Linked DNA regions of Homo sapiens: region 2 is linked to region 1. Evidence: promoter capture Hi-C in 16 types of primary human blood cells and fetal thymus (Javierre and others, 2016). All regions are on one chromosome and are shown on one strand. Each heading gives the region's core, a stretch centred on a gene start or on the middle of the fragment in contact. The rest is flanking DNA. Distances are from core to core; before and after follow the strand shown. Region 1 overlaps TRABD (TraB domain containing). Region 2 holds the start of BRD1 (bromodomain containing 1).

Region 1 (5,380 bases), core at 200-2,699:
AATCGTGTTCAGCACCCACCCCAGTCCTGCTCGGTGGACGTCCGTGCGGGGCAGGGAGAGTGAAGCACAGCTGGTCTGATACAAGCGTCTGGCTTCCTGCCAGGCTGCACCGCTTCCCAGCGGGTTGGCCTTGCAGGTAACAAGGCCAGAAGCCACTGCGAGGTTCCCTGGGGCAGTGCCAGCACTGGGGATTTGGGAAGGAGAGATGTCTGTCCCCCCGGAGGGGCAGCCAGGGTCTGCTGGTCTCTGCTGATGGGCCTGAGCGTATCTGAAAAGGACAGGTAGAAAGGGGGTGGCTGCAGCGTGCGCTGGCCGGACCCCAGGTGATGCTCTGCTGGGACCCAGAGGGGGTGGCTGCAGTGTGTGCTGGCCGGACCCCAGGTGATGCTCTGCTGGGACCCAGAGGGGGTGGCTGCAGTGTGTGCTGGCCGGACCCCAGGTGATGCTCTGCTGGGACCCAGAGGTTGTGGGGCTGGGAACCAGGTGGGGGTTCTTCAGACATTGTCTCTGAAGACACTTCAGAGTCCAGGCTCAGCATCTGTGGCTTTTGGGCCAGGGCCTTTTGCTCACCGCCAGGCAGCTGGGAGAGGCTCTGGGCCCAGCCATAAATGTCTGAGAGCACAGCTGCCTGGGAGCAGACTAGAGGGAGGAGGGCTGGTAACCTGAAATCACACCCTAGAGCTCTCCAGGGGCCTTGGCGAGGAGGGAAAGAGAGTGTTGAGACTGTAAGAGTGACTGTCAGAGACGTCCCCCAGAATCACGGGCTTTAGGTGCTGGGGGGTCCTCAGTGACCTTCCCGCCTGGCTCCCTGCGGGCAGCACGCCTCTGCTGAGAGGCTGCAGGGGCCAGGGCTGGGGGCTGGCACTGCCTCTGGTGGCGCTGACATCGTCCTGCTCAAGGCTTGGCAGCCGGCCCAGGAAAGCTTCTCTGCCCTCCCTGACAGGAGACCTGTGCACGCCCACCCCATGGCACGACTGGGGTCAGGACCAGCGCCTGCTGCTGCACCGAGACCCTGCCCTGTCCATGGCCACAGGCGTACCCTAGGCCGGCCTCAGAGGCGGGTCTGGCCAGGCTGGGTGGAGGGTGGGGGCTGACCGCAGACCTGGGGCTGCCACACCCATGGGGGAAGGGCTGTGGCGACGTGGGCGCCTCCTGTTGGCTGGGCCGACGCAGCCTCCCGCCCGGCTGCACAGGAGTTTCTTTAAGGAGTTTCCCCGGTGTGCCTCGGCAGCCTTGCGCTGCTCTAATGGTCCGGACTTCCGTGTGTGAGTTTCCCCCGTGCGCCCCGGCAGTCTTGCGCTGCTCCTAAGAGTTCTGGCTTGTGTGTGTAGCTAGACCCAGGGAGGCGGCCGTCTCCCGGACCGGGTGCTTGTCTGGGCTGGCTGGCCTGGCGGCTGCTCACAACAGCTTCCGGTGGGTTCCGGTCGGGTTGCATCGTGGAGCTTTCACCTACAAAAGGGGAAGGAGGCGGCCCAAGGGTCCGGGGCCTGGTCCTGCTGTGACCGGTGCCAGCTGCACTTCCTGGATGTGCCAACCGCTAAGACGCCCAGGCCAGGGTTGGGTCCAGACTCAAGCCCAGGTGGCAAGGAGTGGGACCCCCTGCCAAGGCTGTGAGGCCCCATAGGGGAGCCTGCCTGTGGAGCGGGCCCCCCTTGCCCTCTGCAGAGGCTCAAGGCCCCCGGGGACATGAGCCTGGTGTTTATCAGCTGTCTCCTTAGTCTCAGCTGACCTCCCCCGACCATGGCCCCATTGCACCACCCACCCCAAGCCAGGCCAGTTCCTCTCCCAGAAGTCCCGGCTGTCCAAGAAGAGGGCAGGGTGGGCTGCCCTCTTCTCGGCCAGCTTCAGATGGGGCCTCTGGTTGCACTGAGACAGGCCTCTTCCCCTGCTCAGAGCCGTCCCTGCTCCCCCAGCCCCTGAGCTGCCCTCCTAGACACTGCACAGAGAGCTCCTTCCTGTTCACAGGTTAGGACACCCAAGCTTGGAGGCATCTTAACTTGGATGTGGGTGGCCAGGACCCAGCTGGGTCTGTGAGTCCTGGCTGGGGCCGAGGTCTGTGCCTGCTGTGGCTGTGTGCCAACAGGGTTTGCAGAGGAAAGGAACCTGACATAGCGTCTTATTGCTCATTGTTCCTTTTTCTTATGAGTTCTGAGAAGTGGGCAGCAGTAGTGACATGAAAATGACCCCAGATGCACGCAGGCATCAGTGCAGAACCCGGCAGTGGCCCCTCTGAAGCACATCCTACAAGCCCCGTCGTTTCCTCGCCAGATGCTCGTGTCTGACTGACGCAGACGCTTCAAGACAAAACCACAATACCTTGCACGACTAGACAGCTCAGAATGGTTTCCAACGGCTCATTTTTATTTTTTACTTTTGTTTTTTTCTTGAGACAGAGTCTCCCTCTGTCACCCAGGTTGGAGTGCAGTGACAGGATCTCGGCTCACTGCAACCTCAGCCTCTCGGGTTCAAAGTGATTCTCCTGCCTCAGCCTCCCCAGTAGCTGGGATTACGGGTGTGCACCACCACGCCTGGCTAATTTGTGTATTTTTGGTAGAGATGGGGTTTCACCAGGATGGTCTATGTTGGCCAGGCTGGTCTCGAACTCCTGAGCTCAGGCAGTCCATCCACCTTGGCCCCCCAAAGTGCTGGGATTACAGGTGTGAGCCACCGCGCCTGGCCTGTTTGGGATATTTTAATGATTCTGCCTGGTGACACATCCATCCGCCAGGACATGCATGAGCCATTAACTTGGTAAACAGTCACTCCTGGCATTCCGTGGCTGAGAACATTCAGGAAGAGCCACATGGTGCAGCAGGGCCTGTGGCCAGTCTCAGGACAGCCTGCTGGTCCCTGGCCCCGCCTCGAGGGGCTCCGCGCAGGTCTCGCCGATGCTCTGTGGGTCTTGGCCGGTGCGTGCCTCTGGTGCTGCAGGCGCCTGGCTGTTTTCTTCCTTCCCTCAGGCTCCTGGGCCCCCGGCCTGAGCTCCTGGTTTCTGAGAGTCTGTGGGGAGCTGTGATGCCTCGGGGCAGCCCCCTCGTGTGGCTGCCCCAGCCTGTCCGGGTTTCTACCGTGGTTCCTTCCACACCATGTTTGTCTCTTAAAGTGGGAGAGAAGGTCTTAGGTCCAAACACGTTGATTTGTGTGCTTTGTGGATTCCTCCGTCTGTACTGACTCTGTGCCGGTGTTGTTGCCCAGGCTGTAGTTACTGAAAGGGGAAGTGGCTTTTGTACAAAGGCCCTGGGGTCCTTGCCATGTGTCAGCAGCTGCGTTGCTGTGTCCTGAGATCATGTGTGGACCCCAGGGCTGCCTTCCTATGTGTGCCCGCCGTGCCGCAGTGAGGGTTGGGCAGCTCTGGCCCTGTTCTGAGTGAGGCCTGTGCACCAGCAACCCGCCCTGGGCCCGTCTGCGTTTGGTTTATGCTGGGGTGTCTGGGGACCTGCTGGCCTTTCCCCACCCGGGCCTGACCTGAACCGACCCTGGACCTCAGCAGCCTTTGATGGGCAGGAGGCATTTGGGGATATGGGGGAAGGAGCCCCCAGGCCCACCCAACAGATGGTTCTAGACTGACAGGGCACTACGCAGTGAGTCCTGAGCCAGGTCTGGGGCTCCAGGTGGAAACCCCGCCTCTCATGCCTCTCCTCAGGCTCCCCACAGGTGCAGGAAGCCGCCGCCCAGCCATGGACGGGGAGGAGCAGCAGCCACCGCACGAGGTGAGGTGGAGGCTGGGCTGGCTGCACAGAGACAGGGGCGGGGGGCTTCCCCGCTTTGTGGGCTCTCGGGGTCGGTCCCTGGCTGTTGTTCTGCAAAGGTGATCTTCACAGGGTTCTCCAGGGTCAGGCAGGAGGCACCTCCGAGGGAGAGGGGCGCTGGGCTGAGGTGGCCTGGTGGCCCTGTCTGCCCAGCTTGATGGCAGCCGTGCCAGTGATGGCCAAGCAGGAGGGGTACTGACAGTGTGGGGCCTAGGCTCTACGGAGGCCCTGCTTTTCAGGGTGTGTGGTACACAGAGCGGCCACGGGTCCCTTTCCCGGGTACGTGGTCCGTGGAGCGGTCACGGGCCCTCGTTTTTCAGGGTGTGTGGTCCACACAGCGGCCACGGGTCCCTTTCCAGGGTACGTGGTCCGTGGAGTTGCCACGGAGCCCTGGCTTTCTGGGGTGCATGGACCCTGACTTGAACTCTCCTTTCCACCTGCAGGCCAACGTGGAACCTGTTGTGCCGTCAGAGGCTTCAGAGCCGGTGCCCAGGGTGCTTTCTGGAGACCCCCAGAACCTGTGTACGTGTCCCTCAGGGTCCTGGCACGTTCCCCGGTGTTGGGCTGTTGAGTCAGGGAGGAGGGGGAGGCAGCCAACCACTGCCAGGGGCTTGGAGCTTGTGGTGAGCAGGGGCCCTGGCCGAGACCTGAGGTAGGTGCTGCTAGGCCTGGTGCCACCCAACAGCAGCTGCTCCTGGGCCCTGCCTGGCAGTGGAGCCTCTTGGAGGGGCTGCAAGCAGCACAGGCAGGCCCCTGGGCATGGGGGGCTCGTGAGCACAAGCAGTGTGAGCGGCACGGGAGTCCCTCCTTGCTGTGGCCTCAGCCTGTCCCTCCTGAGTGGGGTGGGGGGGCCCATTTCGCCTCAGAGCCCCTCCCCTAGCTGAGCCCCCTGCGGCACCTGCCCCCACTGTCCCCCACACCGAACCTCATCCACAGCAACCCCCAAGGTCGCCCTCATGGGGTGTATGGGGCACAGGACTCCTGAGGCCCTGGCTTCTCGAAGCCGTGCAGCTCACAGAGGTGGTAGCCGGTGTTCCCATCACTGGGCAGGCAAAGCCTGTGGAGTGTGACGCTCGTCAGGAGTCTTGTGCTCTGCACCTGTTCAGTTCTCAGAACCCAGGAGGGTTCTAGAGCCCAGGCTGCCAGCGGGCCCGGCGGCGTCCTTGGGGTGGGCCCGGCACCACAACGGCCTGTGCTGCTGTTGCAGCCGACGTGGACGCCTTCAACCTGCTCCTGGAGATGAAGCTGAAGCGGCGGCGTCAGCGGCCCAACCTGCCGCGCACTGTGACCCAGTTGGTGGCTGAGGACGGGAGCAGGGTGTACGTGGTGGGGACAGCCCACTTCAGCGACGACAGCAAGAGGGACGTTGTGAAGGTGAGCGCCGCCACCCGCCACATCCCGGACACGGGTTGGTGTAAGCTCCTGTGTCCTGCACTCAGGGACCTCCCGGCAGGGCCCGTGTGCCCGTGTGTGCGCACCGCAGGCCTCCTGCTTCAACACTGTGGTCCCTGGGAGTGGCAAGGTGGGCTTCCTGCCTGGGAGCCGTGACGGCCTTGTGCGTTTTCCCACTTAACAAGTGAACAAGCCTCACAGCTTCCTCTCTCGTCGCTTAGAGAATTGAGCTGTCACTG
Region 2 (7,128 bases), core at 856-3,355, 360 kb before region 1:
AGGCTTCCCTCTGTGAGTCCCGAAAGGAAATCCCAGCAGACTTCAAGAGCACTTCTTAAGACAGACCCTCCAGACACTGGGTATCTTTCTCTGTATCAGACAGAAATCCTCATTGTATGTTGAAACTAGATTGCAATTACCTACAGAAAGGAATAGGAGAGAAAATGTGGTCGGCCAAACCTCAGACCCCCTGCATCTCCAGGGCCTCCAGGTACCCACTCAACCCTGGATTCCTGGGGAGCTGTCAGCACAGCCACCCCCCAGCCGGCCCCGTGAGCCCTGCAGAGGTGACACCACAGCCTGCAGAGAGCGACCCTAGTGCACCCGGGACGCCGACACGCGTCATTACTGAGGTGGGGCAGAAGCAACAGTTGGTTACTCACCAGATCAGAAACGAACCTGTCATTTTCCCCTCGACAGCAAAGTCCTGAGTCGCCCTAACGACAAGCAGCCCCTGGAAACCCACTCTCTCCCAGGGAGCCGTGAAGCTCTTCATCGCAACACTTTCTACAAGGGGAGAACTGAACCGAAGGCTTCACGGCCACAGCAGCTCCATACCCTCAACATGCAACTGGGACCCGGGGAAAGTAGGCCCTCAGCAGGGCAGGGCGACCCACGACCTCCTCTGCTTCACCGCTTCCCCCCTGGGCCGGTTCTGTCCCTGGCCCTTCCACTGGGACAAGCATTTCCACTGGGAGGGATCCGCGGGGGCACACACGTAGCTTCTCAAGGAATAATTCCCTTAAGTACATCGAAGAGCCCTGCGGGCCACAGGCGGGGAAGGCTGCCCACAAGACGGCCGCTTCCATCTTCCCACCGCCCGCCCAGGGAGAAGCCGGCCACGCGCCGGGCCTCTCGGTCAAGGCCACAGGGGCCGCGGCCGCTGAGCTGTGCGAAGTTGTGTGCAGCACACAGCACTCGGGACGGCGCTGGGCCGGCCAAACAAAAACATCCGCCGATTCCACTAACTACACAACCACCTGGCGACAGACCCTCAAAAACAGACACGGGCGGCCGCGCTTTCTGGGGAGACGGGGCCGCACCCCGCGGGGCAGGGGGTCCCGCTGCTACGGATTCTCAGAACTCCCGCGTCCGCTCACAAGAGCCGCGTTTCCCGTGAACTGCGCCTCAATCGTGTCACTCGTTTTAAAAGGCCCGGGGAAGCCTCGCGTTCGTCGCGAGGCGTCTCCCTGCAAACGCCCGGGGAGGCCGCGGTGCCGGTTCCCAAGCCCGGCCGCCGCAGGCCGCGCGGCTCCTGGGCGATCTCGGGGCGCGTCCCTGCTCACAGGGAGTTCCCGTCTTGGCAGAGCTCGGCGGGCCTGTCTGTTACATAAGGGGCGGCCCGGCCGGCTCGGCGGCTGCCCGAGGCCCGACCCGACTCGAGCGCGGACTCCGGGCAGGCGCCCGCGGCCCAGGCCGCCGAGACCCACAGCCCGACTCGGCCTCCCTCGACTCCCCGGCCTGACCTACCCGGTCTCCCCGCCCGGCCTCCCCGTCTTCCCGCCCGTCTCCCCGGCCGCCCGGCCCGACCTCCCCGGTCTCCCCGCCCGGCCTCCCCGGCATCCCGGGCTCCCGGCCCGCAGACAATGCGGAGCCGCCGCCGCCGCCGCCGCCGCCAAACATGGCGTCGGCACCACAACCCCGAGAGGCCGGGCCGAGGCGGCGGCGGCGGCCGGGCGGCCCGCGAGGCGGCGGGGAGGCCTCCCCGGCCAGGCCCCCGCCCACTCACCTTCGGGGCGCCGCGGCCGCGGGAGCCCGGCAAGCGGGCGGGCGCGGGGGCCGGCGCGGCCGAGGCGGTGCTAATGGCGCCCGCGGCTCCTCCGCCAACGGCCGCGCAGGCCGGGCCCCGCCGCCGCTCCTGGGCGCGGGCCCCTCTCGGCCGCGGCGGCTCCGGGCCCGGCAGCGGCGGCCGCGGACTCTCGGGCAGCGGCTCGCGCGGCGCGGGCTCGGGCTCGGGGCCCAGCTGGAGGCCCGGCTCGGGGGGCCCGGCCGGCGGGCGCGGGCGCGGGCGCGGGAGCGGGCGGCGGGCGGCGGGCGCGGGACGCGGGGCTGGCTCGGACTCCAGGGCCGGGTCGCTCGCTCGCTCCCCAGCGAAGCAAACAATGCGGCGAGCGCTCCGCCCGGCGCGCTGCGTGCGAGACGCGCCCCGCCCGCCGCCGCCATGACGCGCGGACTCCGCTGCCTCGGCCGCGCGCGGGGGAGGGGGCGCCGCGAGGAGCGGGGGCCAAAGGGGGCCCTGAGGCGGCGGGGACCGGGCTGGGAGTGGGGGGTCGGGAGGATGGAGAGTGGGGGCCCTTGAGTTAGGGAGGACCGGGCCAGAAGGTCCCTGAGGGGGTCAGGAGGATGGAGAATGAGGGGCCCTGAGGCAGGGGGACGTAGGCCTAGGAGTGGGGGGCCCCGAGGCAGGTGGGGAGCAGCCGGGAGTCGGGGGCTTTGAAGCAGGGGGGTACCGGCTGGGAGTGGGGGTCCCTGAGGCAGAAGGGCATTGGCCCAGGAGTGGGGTCGCTGAGGCAGGAGATGGCCCAGGAGTGGGCGGCTCTGAGGCAGGGGCTACCACCGGCCTGGAGTGGGGGGCCCACAGGCGGGGGGACGGGCCGGGAGTGGGGGTACCTGAGGCAGAAGGACATTGGCCCGGGAGTGGGGGGCCCCGAGGCAGGATGGGGGAGCAGCCGCCAGTCGGGGGCCCTGACGGGGGAACGGCCAGGAGTGGGGGTCCCTGAGGCGGGGGGGACCAGCTGAGAGTGGGAGTCCCTGAGGCAGAAGGCCATTGGCCCAGGAATGGGGGGCCCTGAGGCAGGGGGCGATTGGCCCACGAGTTGGTGGGGGCCTGAGGCAGGGGGCGATTGGCCCACGAGTGGGGGGAGGCCTGAGGCAGGGGGCGATTGGCCCATGAGTGGGGGGCCCTGAGGCAGGAGGCTATTGGTCCGGGAGTGGAGGTCCCTAAGAGGACAGAGGGGGCCCTGCGGGGGCACTGGGTGGGAGTGGAAAGGGCACTGGCCGGGACACGCGACTAGGTAGAGGTGGGTGGTGCAGCCGGGCTGGGGAGCCTCCCCTAGTGAGTGTCAGGCCCGGTGTGCAAGTAGTCCTGCCAGTGTGAGGGCCCTGCCGAGGCCGGCGTGAAGCAGATGCCCTTTAAGGTTGCAAGAAAAGGCCCCTGCGGGTGGGAGTTGAGAGGCCTGAGTCTCTGCCTTCACTTTGGCCTTTTGTGTAAACTCTAAAATTCAGTGGGGTCATAACAATTTTCACTCCAAGATTAAATCCCAAATGTTTTAAGGTGAGGCAGGAGCTCCTTGGTTTCCTTGAGAATTTGTGATCAGGACGATGGTGCTGTGGAATCCCTGGGTTCCAGCAGCACAGCCTGTGGCATCCAGGCAGGCCCCTCAGGAAGAGCAGCTGTCCACCCTGGGACAGACCGTCCCCACGGGGGCAGCCGAGCGGCCCCACTGCTCGGGGCACTGCACCAAACACCTTATTGGGAGTGGGGTGGCCTTGTTCGCCCAAGTGTCCCTGATAGGGGCCAGGCCCCACAGGCCTTTTCCTGGCCAGTCCTCATGCCCATGGCACCCAGTGTGTGGGTTGTGACGTGACGACTCAAGGGCAGGTAGGACCCCAGCCAAGGCCCCAGTGGTCAGTCCTGATCTAGGACTCCCTGCAGACACACCCTTGAGCTTAGGGGGTACAGGCCACTGGGGCCCTGACCTCTTCTGCACCAGACCCAGGAGCTTCGTGTCACCTCCATTCTACAGATGTCTGTTTACCTGTGGCCAAACAAGCAAGCTGAGCCCGAACGCTTCTCTCCTCCACCTCAGGGAAGCCAGATGGAAACCAAGCTGGAGGTTCTCCACAACACAGAGCAAAAGTAAGACACAGTCTCATGAAAGAGAAGATGAAAAGACACGAAACCCTTCACAGAAGAGGAGACGGGGACAGTGGCCTCTCAGACAATGCAGGTGATGCTCAGAGGAGTGAAGAACAAAGCCTCGAACGTAGGCATGTCACAGGGATACTCAGGAAGGCCTTCGGAGAGGATCTTCTTTAGAATTCAGACTCATCCTACAGAGGAGGGGTTGCCAAAATACTAAGAGAATTGAACCGTAACTCATACACAGTGAAACTAGCGTTCCAGTGAGACAGCAAAATAAAGGTGTCTTCACCGCCGGTTAACATCCACATTTACCACACACGCAGTCTGTAAAAGTACTAGAAGAAATACCTTAACAAAGTGAAAAGTGGACCCAAGAGTAAGACGTGGATGCCAGCAAGTAAATCAGTCTGGTCCGTTAAAAGAAAATCAACCTGAGAGAAATCCCGGATGAACTCAACATGACACATGGTAAGGCGGGGCGCAGAAGGAAGTGAAAGTGCACGAAAGCTCTTGTATTGTTTGGTTCGAGGATTTTAGAATCGATAGAAAAAAAGGTTAAAAATTTTAGCTGGGCATGGTGGCTCACACCTGTAATCCCAGCACTTTGGGAGGCCGAGGCGGGCAGACTACCTGAGGTCGGGAGTTCAAGACCAGCCTGATCAACATGGAGAAACCCCATCTCTACTAAAAATACAAAAAAAAAAAAATTAGCCGGGCGTGGCGGCGCATGCCTGTAATCCCACTACTTGGGAGGCTGAGGCAGGAGAATTGGTTGAAACTGGGAGGTGGAGGTTACAGTGAGCTGAGATGGTGCCATTGCACTCCAGCCTGGGCAACAAGAGCAAAACTCCATCTCAAAAAAACAAAAAAAAAAAGTTTTAACTATCAGAAAGTTTCCACAAGAATGGTGGAAAAAGAATTTACCACTTTCAGAACAGCTGAGGAAAAAGCGAAATGAAAAACGACAGCAGCAACAACAAAAAAAAAACAGGAATGAGTAAAAGATAAAATCATGATAAATACAGAACATAATATGAGTTGGCAGAACTAAGTTCAAACATTTGAGTAATCAGAGGAATGTGATTGGATTAAATGCATCTATTAAAAGACAACCTCTCTGAATGGAATATAAATATGGTGAAATATTCTTACAAGAAATTCACCTGAAAAATAACAGATGAAAAATAAAACGATGGGGCCAGGCACAGTGGCTCATGCCTGTAATCCCAACACTTTGGGAGACCGAGGCAGGTGCATCACCTGAGGTCAGGAGTTCAAGACCTGACCAACATAGTGAAACCCCATCTCTACTAAAAATAGAAAAATTAGCCAGGCATGGGGGCACGTGCCTGTAATCCCAGCTACTCAGGAGGCTGAGGCAGGAGAATCACTTGAACCCAGGAGGCTGAGGTTGCAGTGAGGCAAGATTGCCCCACTGCACTCCAGCCTGAGTGACAGAGCAAGACTCCATTTCGTAAATGAAAGGATGGAAATTATCATATGTTTGTTCCTCAAAAGGCACCATAAAGAGACTGAAGAATGAAAAACTAAAAGATATGTACACCTTGCAGATGATTAGTATTTAGAATATATAGAGAACCCCTTCAGATCCATTAGAAAGAGACAAACAAGCCAACAAAATGATGCACAAAACCCAAATCAACAAAGAAACCCATGTCATAATCAGGCTTCTTGCAGAGAACATGGAAAGGCCAATCATCTTACTAGTAAATTTGGAAATGCAAACAAAATACACACCAAATAGGCACCAGCGTTCATATGTGGCAATACTCAGCGATGGCAAGATGGCAGAGCAATACCCTGCTGGCCAGAATGTCGAGTGGGACAATTATTTGGTAAATATCTTGGTCATAAGGCGTTACCCAGTGAAAGTGGACATGTTTATCAGTTACCTCTTGCTGCAAAACAAACCACCCCCAAAACTTTGTAGCTCAAAACAGCAGTCATTCCTTTTGTTCACACATCTGCTATTTGGGCAGGATTCAGCAGGTACAACTAGACTACTTCCTGCATCCTTATCTGGGGCACCTCCACTAGGGGCTGGAGGAGCCACTTCCAAGATGGTGCACTCACGTGGCTGGGACCTTGATCCAGGCTCTGGGCTGAGGGCCTTGGGAACATCCTCATGGAATAGTAGCCATGCTGCAGGAGCAAGGGTCTCAAGAGAAGCAGGTGGGACCTGTATCACTTTTCACATCCTAGCTTCTGAAGTCACACGCATCACTTCTGCCATAGGGACAAGCCTGTCCAGATTCAAGAGTTAGGGAGAATACAGACCCCACCTCTTGGGACATGTGTTATCATCACATTTTAAGAGAAGCATGCTGTATGGGAGAAGTTGTTGTGGCCACTTTGAGAAGATGCAAGCTCCCCCAGTGTGCATACCCATTCCCGGCTGTAGGGTTAAGTCAATTTGTATTCCTAGGTGCATTCCGTGCCTGGGTGTGTGCCTAAGAAACCTGTTCATCAGGGCCGGGCGCCGTGGCTCACGCCTGTAATCCCAGCAGTTTGGGAGGCTGAGGCAGGCAGATCATGAGGTCAGGAGATTGAGACCATCCTGGCTAACACGGTGAAACCCCATCTCTACTAAAAATACAAAAAATTAGCCAGGAGGCTGAGGCAGGAGAATGGTGTGAACCCAGGAGGCAGAGTTTGCAGTGAGCAGAGATTGCGCCACTGCACTCCAGCCTGGGCAACAGAGCAAGACTCCATCTAAAAAAAAAAAAAAAAAAAGAAAAGAAAAAAAGAAACTTGTTCATCAGGAAGCATGTGCATGAATGTTCAGAGCAACACTGTTTTTGGTGTTTTTTTTTTTTTATTTTAACGCTGTTTTTAATAGCAAATACTGGGAGAAATCTTAAATATCAAAGGACGGTAAAATGGACAAAGTGAGGTGTATCCACGCAATGGAATAGCACACAGCAACAGAAATGAATGAATTCCACCACCAACACGGCCAAATCTCAAACACATAATTTTAAATGGAAGAAAGAAATCTCAAAAGATTACAGAATATGATTCCATTTACACTCAGCAGACAGAGCTAGGAAATAAGTATGTACAAACACACACACACACACACACACACACACACACACACACACACACACACCCATATCTTTTCTGATACCTCTTAGCAAACCTTGAGTTCATACTGATACCTGTACCTCCAGTTACAATCTAGCATGGAGTTGATTCTACCCTCCTCTGTTTCTACATAACTATCTATGCCTTCACTTAGT

Evidence for each region. Contacts are between HindIII fragments. The CHiCAGO score rates a contact against its expected background, and 5 or more counts as called.
Region 2: a contact is called between the fragment with the promoter of BRD1 here and a fragment that was not itself captured in region 1, in 1 of 17 cell types (erythroblasts). The highest score is 5.7, in erythroblasts.

What each region holds. Positions count from the first base shown.
Region 1 is chr22:50,189,384-50,194,763 of GRCh38, forward strand. TRABD (TraB domain containing) reads left to right here. Exons shown (of 10, transcript NM_001320485.2): 2 at 3,644-3,710; 3 at 4,193-4,271; 4 at 4,957-5,123. The coding sequence starts at 3,678. Among named protein-coding and RNA genes, the nearest start is that of TRABD, 6.2 kb to the left of the region's middle. RefSeq lists enhancers at 272-886, 887-1,501, 1,187-1,546, 1,817-2,036, 2,227-2,376 and 3 more and a silencer at 2,527-2,576. The HindIII fragment of the contact is 1,058 bases long and covers 921-1,978 here.
Region 2 is chr22:49,825,768-49,832,895 of GRCh38, forward strand. It overlaps BRD1 (bromodomain containing 1), which reads right to left and starts at 2,106. Exons shown (of 13, transcript NM_001304808.3): 1 at 1,730-2,106. It overlaps LOC105377205 (a long non-coding RNA gene), which reads right to left. Exons shown (of 5, transcript NR_188597.1): 5 at 6,682-7,128. RefSeq lists an enhancer at 571-770 and silencers at 1,271-1,440, 2,171-2,240. The HindIII fragment of the contact is 34,147 bases long and covers 1-7,128 here.